Linked DNA regions of Homo sapiens: regions 1, 3 and 4 are each linked to region 2. Evidence: promoter capture Hi-C in 16 types of primary human blood cells and fetal thymus (Javierre and others, 2016). All regions are on one chromosome and are shown on one strand. Each heading gives the region's core, a stretch centred on a gene start or on the middle of the fragment in contact. The rest is flanking DNA. Distances are from core to core; before and after follow the strand shown. Region 1 has its middle 61 kb from the start of DYNLT3. Region 2 holds the start of RPGR (retinitis pigmentosa GTPase regulator). Region 3 has its middle 28 kb from the start of DYNLT3. Region 4 has its middle 14 kb from the start of DYNLT3.

Evidence for each region. The method cuts DNA at HindIII sites, captures the fragments that hold promoters and counts their contacts. A CHiCAGO score of 5 or more calls a contact.
Region 1: a contact is called between a fragment that was not itself captured here and the fragment with the promoter of RPGR in region 2, in 1 of 17 cell types (neutrophils). The highest score is 6.6, in neutrophils.
Region 3: a fragment that was not itself captured here is called in contact with the fragment with the promoter of RPGR in region 2 in 1 of 17 cell types (neutrophils); the score reaches 5.5 in neutrophils.
Region 4: a contact is called between a fragment that was not itself captured here and the fragment with the promoter of RPGR in region 2, in 2 of 17 cell types (naive CD8 T cells and neutrophils). The highest score is 5.5, in naive CD8 T cells.

The regions. Positions count from the first base shown.
Region 1 is chrX:37,907,131-37,909,830 of GRCh38, reverse strand. It overlaps a transcript of SYTL5 not described here. Among named protein-coding and RNA genes, the nearest start is that of DYNLT3, 61 kb to the right of the region's middle. The HindIII fragment of the contact is 1,884 bases long and covers 458-2,341 here.
Region 2 is chrX:38,326,210-38,328,909 of GRCh38, reverse strand. It overlaps RPGR (retinitis pigmentosa GTPase regulator), which reads left to right and starts at 1,401. Exons shown (of 15, transcript NM_001034853.2): 1 at 1,401-1,570. The coding sequence starts at 1,543. It also overlaps a transcript of OTC not described here. RefSeq lists a silencer at 1,463-1,712. The HindIII fragment of the contact is 17,506 bases long and covers 1-2,700 here.
Region 3 is chrX:37,818,269-37,821,113 of GRCh38, reverse strand. No RefSeq gene overlaps it. Among named protein-coding and RNA genes, the nearest start is that of DYNLT3, 28 kb to the left of the region's middle. The HindIII fragment of the contact is 7,319 bases long and covers 1-2,845 here.
Region 4 is chrX:37,859,824-37,862,753 of GRCh38, reverse strand. No RefSeq gene overlaps it. Among named protein-coding and RNA genes, the nearest start is that of DYNLT3, 14 kb to the right of the region's middle. The HindIII fragment of the contact is 2,309 bases long and covers 410-2,718 here.

The DNA of each region.
Region 1 (2,700 bases), core at 150-2,649, 420 kb after region 2:
TGGTGGCAGGTGCCTGTAATCCCAGCTACTTGGGAGGCTGGGGCAGGAGAATCGCTTGAACCTGGGAGGCAGAGGTTGCAGTGAGCTGAGATCACGCCATTGCACTCCAGCCTGGGCAACAACAGTGAGACTCCATCTCAAAAAAAAAAATAAAAACAGAAAACAAACAAACAAAAAAACCTCCCCAGGTAATTTTTAATGTGCAACAAAGTTTGAATACCACTGCTAATCTACTCCAGGGGTGTCCAGTCTTTTGGATTACCTGGGCCACACTGGAAGAAGAATTGTCTTGGGCCACACATAAAATACACTAACACTAATGATAGCTGATGAGCTAAAAAAAAAAAATTGAAAAAAAATCTCATAATGTTTTAAGAAAGTTTACAAATTTGTGTTGAGCCACATTCAAAGCTGTCATGGGCTGCATGTGGCCTGCAAGCCACAGGTTGGACAAGCTTGATCTACTCCATTCTTTTCATTGATGAGAAATCTAAGACAATTGTAATCATTAAATTTCAATCTCTCGATACTTGCTTATCTGATCTCCCACCATGATGTCCAAAAACTACCTTCTGTAAGTATTTGAGAGAATATTCTACTGGAAAAGAGAAAGTTAAATCAAAGCGGGCAATAATATACACTCTTTTCATGCTTCAACTTTTTAAGTTTTAGTGTGTGTGTGTGTGCTAGGGACCATTTTGAACTGTGTGTGGGGGAGGGGGGCAGTAGTACATCTTCCCCAGTACAGGTATAGAGAAGGTCCCCAAAGATAATCTGTTGAACCAAGTTGTCAGTGCCACTACCTCTCCCTAGGTTCTTCTTTTCCCTCTTGTTAAGTTTCCCTCCAGGCTCCTAGGATCCAAATTAAAGACATTCAGATGCTGTAAACCAGCCTTCCAAGGCATTGGCAGCAAACCACTCATCAGTTTTTTTTCCTCACTAAATCCTTTCCCATGTCCCTGTGAAGTTTTGAAGCTCCCAAACTCAACACTCCACTCAAAGGACAACTATTTACTGAATATTTACTCTTTTCCAGGAACTTGAGGGTTTGATCCATACTTAATAGAAACCCTATGAGATTACACACACACACACACAGGCAAGGTGCAGTCTCTAAAAGTTAGCACACTCCATAAAAGTGATTTGGCACCCTTAAAATACCATATACCCATGTGGAGAGGGGAAATCTGCTCTAAATGTGTGCTTTTGCTACATTGATTAATATTTAGTATTTTACTTGGCCAGAACATTGATACGATCACAGGTTCAAAAAGACTTATTTTCTTGACAGTCTAGAAGACTTTCTGGTCAGTTCCCCAAATACATCACCTACCTGCCTCTCCCTGGCTGCCTTTCCACTATAGAAGCTGAAAAAACGGATACTTTCCCAGTCTCCTTTGCCACTAAGGGCAGCTATGTGCCCCAGATATTGCCAATGAGATAAAAGTAGGATTCTGTTAGATAAATTTGGGGAAGGATATTTTTTCTCTGATGAGAAAGTTGCATGAGGAAAAATACTCTGACCTTTTCCACCCCGTTTCCTGTCATTGAACATGGGATTAGGACCGAGTGTCTTGAGCTGTTAGAGCCATCTTGAAGCCATGAGGGTAAGACACTGACTCAGAACCCTGATATTGTTGGGTCACTGTATCAACTCCAGTTATTACCTACTGTCAGCCTTCTCTATTTTCTTTGTTTTTTTTTTTTTTCTTTAGAGACAGGGTCTTACCCTGTCACCCAAACTAGAATGTAGTGGTGCAATCATAGCTCACTGCAGCTTTAAAATCCTGGGCTCAAGGGATCCTCCCACCTCAGCCTCCTGTGTAGCTGGGACCACAGGCACATGCTACTGCGCCCAGCTAAACTTCTGTAGTATTACAAGCCATGTTTAGTTGGCTTTTCTGTTACTTTCAGCAAAAAAATAAAAAATAAAAAATAAAAAATTAAATATTAAAGTTCACAACAATATATAGATTTTTTCAAATATAGAAAACTCTCATTTATTTAGAACACAGTGTATTCTGAGGATCCACACTTTGAGTACCATTGAATTAAATGACTTATCTTTTAGGAGTGAAGAGAAAGAATGCACAGGTGGATTTCAAGGAATGGTAAACCTAATCTGGACTGCCAAATTATTTTATTCATTCATTTTTTTTCAACAGACCTTACTTTACTAGGCTCCAGGGATACAAAGATTAATAAGGCATTACCCTTGCTTCCAAATAAATTTTATTACTCTAAGCAAGATGGATATGTAAACCTAGAATCATAAGGTGGTAAGAGCTAAGATAGAGGTATGTAGAGTAGAGGAGTTATGTTATCAGAGAAGTGGGAAGCTTAACGGCTCCCCGGGGACGACATTGGAAGAGGATCATGGAAGCTTCCACTCAACTCTAAAAAATTATTCCTGTGATCTGACTAAACATGTAAGGTTTTATTAATTTTATTTCAAGGAGGGTTCTTTTCTATAATTATAGGTTATAAAACAAATGACAATTCAAGAAAGATCGGGGACTAATCAACTGCCAGAAAAGATACCCCATCCATTTTTCTCTCCCACAAAGCAAGACAAAAACATGGTTTTGTGTGTGCATTTTGGGGTGGGGGTGGCAGGCATATCAGCAGGGTTGTTTTCTGGAATAGAATACTTCTGTGTTGTGAATTAAGACCACTTGTTAACATTGCATCAAACCAAAC
Region 2 (2,700 bases), core at 152-2,651:
TCCTGTTGATTCTAAGACCTAAAATATTTTCAAATCTGCCTGCTCCTCTCTGGCACCAATGAACTGTACTCCAAGCCATCCTGACCACATGTCTGAAATTCTGCAATAGCCTCTGAACCCTTCTCACTGCTCCAGTTTATTCTCTACAAAGCATCTAGACCAGGCAGAATGATTTCAGGGACACACATAACTGATCCTGTCCTGTTGTTCTACTGCCTAAAACTTCTCAGTGGTTTCACATTGTCTTTAGGATAAAATCTCAGATCCTTAATAGGCCCAAGACCTTGCCACCTCGCTAGGAACCAGCCTCGCCTCTTGGTGTTCCTGGAAAGAGTCAAGCTCCTTACAAACCTTTATACACAATTTACTCTCTGCCAAGAGCTCTCTCCCCCTCCTGGCTTATCTTTCTCCAGTTCTTAGATTTAATGTTCTTTCTTCAGATAAGCCTTTCTTAACCTCCTACACCAGGTCAACGCTTCTTGTTAACCACTTCCTTAGTAACCTCCACTTTGCTTTGTAAGTAAATGATTATTTGTGTAACTAATAGTTTAATGTCCCCTCTTCATGTTAATGCAAACTTCCTGAGAAAGTGTTGGTAACACACAAGAGTAATTCAGGGATCCCTGAATCCAATTGTGTCTGATTCTAGGGCCCATGTCCACAACTACCAAACGTACGTAAATCTGCTCATTCTGGAAGATGGCTTTTTGCTTCTTTATTTCATGATAGCCAAATGTTGATGCATGGGAAACCCTGCATCATATAACATCGCTGAGCAAATTCTAGAGCAATGATGTTGGGCTACCCCTTTGTGTATGTTCTGTGAGTAGTGGACCATATACACCTCAGCTTTTACTTTTGTTGACTACAGGCTGGACTAGCTGGACTAGCTGCCCACATGCTTAAACAGAGGTAACATTAACCACTTTACAGGGTTGTAATAGTACTCATTTGTCCAATAAATACGTAATGAGCATTCAGTATAGGCCAGATGTTGGTTTAGATGCTGGGGATATCTTTAGCAGAGTGCTTACCTCCTTTAATGTTCCAGCTGGTCACTATTACTAGTAGTGTCATAATTGTGTGTCGATGCTTGCTTATGTCACGGAGTATGGGATTTGTGACGTTTGCCACTCATGGGCAGGGTCCCTGCGGCGCCTGGACCTCCAACGGCACAAGGGCGCGGACTCCACAGCATCACTGCGCGGCGTGGCCGCCTCTCTGCTCCAGGCCGCCAGAGGGCGCGTGGTCTCTACTGCCCCTCCGCTGTGCCTGAGCCTGCCCCTTACCAGCCACCCGGCCTCCGTTCCCCTCCCCAACGGCGCCTGTCCCGCCTTGCATTCCCAAGCTCCGCCCCCGTTGCCCGTAGCGGCTGTTTGTTGACTTCCGGGAGCGCGGTTGTAGTTGATCTCCGGAGTTTCGCCATGCGGAACTTGGGGGCTTTCGCGGCCCGCGTCGGTGCGGAGTAGCTGCTTTAGCCCCGACCAAACCGTCCTCTACAGCCTCCTGGCCCCGGCGCAGGCTGCCCGTACTGCCCGTGGCATGAGGGAGCCGGAAGAGCTGATGCCCGGTGAGTTGCGCCCGCGCCGGTGGCGGAAGGCCGGGAGGGAGGGTCCGCGGGCGGCCGGGCCCCGCCTCCGGATCGGCCCTGTAGGGGGACAGGCCCCAGGCTTGGCAGCCGGACTGGGGCGGGATCGCTGGTTGCGCTCCCGCGAATGACTGAGGGCAGAGGACCGGACGGGAAGAACAGGATGGGGGAGAACGGGAAAGAGGGTGCCTGTCTTTCGTATGCTTTTTAAATAAGCTCTTGATGAGCTTCTTGAAGGCAGGGACACTTTTTTTTTTTTTTTATGAGACGGAGTTTCACTCTTGTTGCCCAGGCTGGAGTGCAATGGCGCAATCTCGGCTCACCGCAACCTCCGCATCCCGGGTTCAGGCGATTCTCCTGCCTTAGCCTCCGAGTAGCTGCGATTACAGGCATGCGCCACCACGCCCGGCTAATTTTATATTTTTAGTAGAGACGGGGTTCCTCCATGTTGGTCAGGCTGATCTCGAACTCCCGACCTCAGGTGATCAGCCCACCTCGGCCTCCCAAATTGCTGGGATTACAGTCGTGAGCCACCGCGCCCGGCCAGGGAGGGACACTTTCTGTAAACTCCCCAAAGTGCGGACTCCAGACTTGTGCACTTTGGAGGTCCTGAGCTCCCGGTTATGTATTGAATGCAGTAAAGAGTGAGTGATCAGGGCTGTGGGGTAAAAGGGGATACAGGAAATAAATTGGACAAAGAGGGAGAAGAGGGACCCTTTAGCGAGTGTTTTTTAGCCTTTTTTTTCCTGAGCTCCATAGTTAGAAATACTTTTGACATTGTGACCCGATACTCCATATATACCGTGTAACAGAAATAGATGTCTGGTGAAGCAGTCCTTGTTCTATCCACTTAGATTCCACACACACCTTTTTGATAATGCATTCTTTTAAAATGCTGATCGTGATCCACTGAATTGATTTTCTGGCCCACTAATAGGTCACGACCATTTTGAAAAAACACTGGGTTTGAGCAGAATCATACCTTCACTGAAATATGTATGTTTTCTTCCATGCTCCTGGCCGGAACTGACATTCCTGGCCTGCAGTTCACAATTTAGTGAGACATACAGGAAAGTAAACAAAATGACCATATAAATTGACAGTAGATATTA
Region 3 (2,845 bases), core at 185-2,684, 510 kb after region 2:
CATTCTATTTTGTAATAGTCTAAGTCTTCTGTAATTTGTCTGTTAATTAATTTTAAAATTAGAAAATCAATACACATTTACATTATTATGAAAGACATCTTTTCAACATTGACCTGAGTGGTGTGCTAGGAGTATTTTTCTTTCTCTACGAATTTAATATCATGACTATACCACTCAAAGGGAATATTTCTAGAGTGATGTTTGAATAGATTCTTTTTTAAAACTCCCACCAAATGCTTTCACCATATGCTCAAGCTGTTCCTGTAGATCTTGTTGGAGCATTGTCCCCTGCTTCTGTCTGAAATAGTTGTTCTCAGAGCCAACTGTCCAGCCATAATCATAGAACATTCTTTGCTCTCCTGGGGTAAAGCCATTGCTTTTTAGGTCTTATTTCTTCATTCATTTTAGATTACTTCCTTGGTTTTCAGAAATACAACCTCAATGACTTCTCAAGAATGATGCAATTTTAGGTAAGGTTAATTTTAGTGTACCTTCTTTCCCTCTATGGTCAGAGCCCCATCTGTGTGGGGTTGCCCCTCTTCTTCCCGATTTGGATGTAATGTCCCAATGCAAAGTGTAAGGTCTAGTTCCTGACCTGTCACTGAGGCTGGATGATGTAACCTAGAAATGTATATGGGTGGGGGGTGAGAGTGTGTATTGTATCATGGAGTTAATCTTGACCAATGAAAAACAGATAGGAAGGGTACACCCTTGTACTGAGCACACACACATGCTGAGTATGGTTCTTTGGGGCTCATTGTGAATTGGTGGCTGTGCGGTGATGCTTCACATCTTCCCATGCCTCACTTACTGGGTTTCTCATGCTCACCACCTTAGGCTTATACCTCCCAAGCAAAATATAAGTATTTTAATCCCTGCCTGGAACTTTGCTTTTTAGCAGAGTGCCTAGGCTAAGCTAGCCAAGTATAGTATTCTAGGTTGAGGCTGGGCACGGTGGCTCACACCTGTAATCTCAGCACTCCGGGAGGCCAAGGTGGGCAGATCATGAGGTCAGGAGTTTGAGACCAGCCTGACCAACATGGTGAAACCCGTCTCTACTAAAAACACAAAAATTAGCTGGGCATGATGGCGGGCACCTGTAATCCCAGCTACTCGGGAGGCTGAGGCAGGAGAATCGTTTGAACCTGGGAAGTGGAGGTTGCAGTGAGCCGAGATTGCACATTGCACTCCAGCCTGGGCAAAAGGGCGAGACTCCATCTAAAAAAAAAAAAAAAAAAAAAAAAAGACTTCTAGGTTGAATATCATTTCCAGCAGAACTCTGAGTTTCTATGAAACTTCCCATGGACATATGTACATAAACAGATGGCATATCCTTTTTCTCTCTCAGATGTGGTCCCTGGTCCATAGGGCTTGGTCCATAGACTTCTAGTTTCCAGTGTTGCTGAAACAAGTTTGATTCTTGCTACTTTATGGGTTAGCTGTGTCTTGATTTGTTTTGTTTTGCTTTAATATTTCCTTTCTGGAAGCTGTTGCAAATTTACTTGAACCTCGATGTTCTGAAATTTTGTAATAATATGTCTAGACATAAGAAATTATTTTCAATGTGATGGCTACTCTGTGGACTCTATCCGTATGATGACTTGTATTATTTAGCTCAGATAAAGTATCTTATAATTTCTGACACTTTTCTCTCACGTGCTATTTCTATACTCTCTTTCTGAAACTTCCGTCAGTTGGATGACAGACTTGACTCTTCATTTCCATGTTTCACTCTTCCCCTTCTTTGTATCTGGTATTTCCATGCCTCTAATTTCTCTGGAATTCTTCAGGGAGATAGGCATCTTCCTGAGCCTTGTCCCTTCCTCAAATACTTCTAAGTTTTATTTCTTTCAAATTAATTCATAATTTACCACTTCTCTATCAATTATCCAGCTTCTAGGAACATGGTAAAAATTTTTATTTCTCGATAGTCCTCTTCTGTTCTCTTTACACAGGTTATATCATTATTATTTTTATTTTATTTTTTATTTTTTGAGACCGAGTCTCACTCCGTCACCCAGGCTGGAGTGCAGTGGCACGATCTCGGCTCACTGCAACCTCCGCCTCCCGGGTTCAAGAGATTACTCCTGCCTGAGCCTCCTGAGTAGCTGAGATTACATTTGCCCACCACCATGCCCACCTAATTTTTGTATTTTTAGTAGAGATGGTGTTTCACCATGTTGGCCAGGTTGGTCTTGAACTCCTGGCCTCAGGTGATACACCTGTCTCAGTCTCCCAAAGTGCTGGGATTGCAGGTGTGAGCCACTGCACCTGGCAACCATAATAATAATAACATGCTAATTAAAAGACATGCTAATTATTATTATTATTATTATTATTATTATTTGAGACGGAGTCTCACTCTGTCACCCAGGCTGGAGTGCAGTGGTGCGATATCGGCTCACTGCAACCTCCACCTCCCGGGTTCAAGCGATTCTCCTGCCCCAGCCTCCTGAGTAGCTGGGATTACAGGCGTGAGCCACATGCCCGGGAATTTTTGTATTTTGGGTAGAGACGGAGTTTCACCATGTTGGTCAGGCTGGTCTTCAACTCCTGACCTCGTGATCCCACCTCGGCCTCCCAAAGTGTTGGGATTACAGGCGTGAGCCACTGCGCCTGGCCCCATTATTATTTTTAAAATGCCATTTAAGAGTCTTCAGAGAGAGAGAGAGAAAGAAAATTGCTTAGGATCAATTCTTCATCCTGAACCAGAATTGTCTGAATTTTTATGATGTAGTTGAATCTGTGTTTTCCATGTAGCTTGTGGGTTTCAAGACTGCTTAACAGGGCTGTGTTTTTCCTGTATGTTAGACATGCTTTGGATTCATTCAGCCAGTTTAATATT
Region 4 (2,930 bases), core at 315-2,814, 470 kb after region 2:
CTTAGCCAAAAACATTCTTATTGTGATTATGCAGGCAGAGCATGCCTGAGGCACAAATGTAATTTCATCTTTACATGAACAAATACTAAAGCATAATAAAATTGTATGGCAGAAACAAGGGCAGGAGGCAAAAAAAAAAGAAGGGATATAAGATGTCTCATATAGAATCTATGAACGTCTGGAGAAAAGGGATCAACCTATATGGAAAAGTCTTATTTCCTATTTTTCCTTGGTGCCTGCTTATTTCCCCCTGCCCAGTATGTTTATCATGGCACTGTACTCTAGGATTTGTACTCAGTTGTCCCTATTCACTCATACTCACAACCCCATATATGAAAAAGCCAGGAAAGATATCAAGTCAAAATCATGGAACCTGATAATAACGTCCCCCAGCTGATAATACAAAGCTTCTTGTACCACTCTCCTGGCTACAATGCCCACAGTAGGATATAAAAGAGGCACCAAGAAGAAGAGGAATCCTCACTCCTGCTTAGATGTTGGCTTCAAAAATATTTTATGTTCATCCAGATGCAGTGGCTCATGCTTGTAATCCCAGCACTTTGGGAGGGCGAAGTGGGCAGATCACTTGAGGTCAGGAGTTCAAGACCAGCCTAGCCAGCATGGCAAAATCCCAACTCTACTAAAAATACAAAAATTAGCTGGGTGGGTGGTGCACACCTGTAGTCCCAGCTACTCTGGAGGATGAGGCAGGAGAATCACTTGAACCTGGGAGGCAGAGGTTGCAGTGAGCTGAGATCACACCACTGCACTCCAGCCTGGATGACAGAGAGAAACCCTGTCTCAAAAAACAACAACAACAAAAAAAAATATGTATATATACTTCATATTCAATCATCCAACTTTCTGACCCCTACTCTCTTTGCTTCCATCTCACTTTTTCTAGAACCTTCACCCCAGTAATTATCTGACACCATTTTGACCTACAGTTCAATGATCCTATCACTTTTTCGCTGTCCATCACTACTTACCGAGCTTAGAATCCACAAGCTATCAGACCAATCACTCCCCTGAAAATGCCTTTGAAGGCCATGATTCTCTCTTCCTCAGTCAAAATCACTTGGAAAAGCCCCAATCCGGGTTAACCCTACTCTTCTCCATATGCTTCCAAGAGCTGAACATGGCCAGAGGCTGCAACATCTATGATAGGTTTCATTTTAAAATTATGACCACAAAACGCAATTGAGTTGCCTGAGATTTTACCATATTTTTCTAATTTATTTCCTTCCCCACACTCTGAGAAAATCCATCGTCCTCTCTCATGTAACGTCAAACTTCAAATCTAACTTCTAATGTAACTTTCAAATTCTTGTCTAACTTCTTTACATTATTTGAGTGATTATCTAAATGTCATTTTCTCAGAGAACTCTTCCCTCTTCACCTTATCTATAGTATCCTCACCCTAGTCACTCTCTATTCCCTTACTTTTCTTACGTCTTCTTTATAACACTTACAGCTACCTCGTCATGTGTGTGTATACACACACACACACATATATATATATACACACACACATATATATATAATGTAAGAGTTAAAGAAAGAGGAAAGAAACATGAAACACAGATTGGCAGTTAAAGACACCTTTACTTTAGATAAAATATGAGAGGGGTTTCTGGCCAATTTTGGTCAGGAGCACTTTCTCTTACAGACTAAGAGAATATATTTGTTTTAGGGTGAGGGGGCTTATCACTAGCTTGGAATGTTTCAGTGTGAGGGAGAGGATTTATGGCAGGGTTGGAATGTCTCTGGGAGGAGGGGAGTTTATTTTGGGACAGACATCTTTCCGGCTGGAGGGGGTTTATCTTGAGGCTGGCATCTTTCCGGCCAAAGGGAGGTGATCTCGGAGCTAGCATGTCTCTCGTCGGGGAGGAGTTTGGAATGTTTCTGGTTGGAGATGTTATTTGTGGTTTATGGTCTTGCTGACCTTAGCCATTAGGCTGATGCCCTTTGGATTTAGGCAGTTTTTTATTAGGTGAACTTTAGAATGAAGGGCTTGCCCAAGATGGCGATGTTCCTGCTGTCATATAATACACATTATGTACATATCATATGTATATATGATATATATCTATATATGACAAATATATGTGATATATATATATATGATATATATATAGTGTTTGTGTATTGTCTGCCTTTCCTAATAGATCATAAACTCCATAGAGATGGGCAATCTTTCTTGTTCATTCCCATCTTCTAATACAGGATTTCTTAACCTCAGCATTATTGACATTTTATGGCAAATAACTTACTGTAGGGGACTGTCATGTGCATTGTTGGAAGTTTGGCAGCATCCATGGCCTCTAACTACTATAAGCCAGTAGGTCTCACCCTGCTTATGACAATCAAAATGTCTCCAGGCATTGCCAAATCTCCCTGGGGTGGAGGTGGGGGCAATGGTAAAAACCTGCCCTGGTTAAGGACTACCTCTCTAACACAATGTTTGGCAATAGAGAGTGCTAAGTAAACCTTTGTTGAATGAATGAATGAATAAATGACAAACCCATAGGACACAAAAACATTCCCAAGAAGTAGCAGAATGTATTGTTCTAACATCCAGCAGAACTATGTTTAAGCCTGTCCAGCAAAAGTGAATTTACCTTGTTGTAATGACATCTGAAGGGGAAGAAAAGATTTTGCACCAAGGGTTCTCAACCCTGACTGACTACATGTCATAATCACCCACCTGGGGAAGCTTCTGAAAAACTACTGATGCCAGTTTTGATTCCAGAACAATTAAATCAGAATCTCAAGGGGGTGGGGTCTAGCACAAAAATTTTTTTAACACCTCATCCTGTGCTTCTGATTTGCAGCCAGTGTTAAAATCCTATTCCTTTCAATTCTCCAAAGACTAGTATTACAGCATAGCAATCCTCATTGTCAATACATTTCTCCTCAAATATCTACAT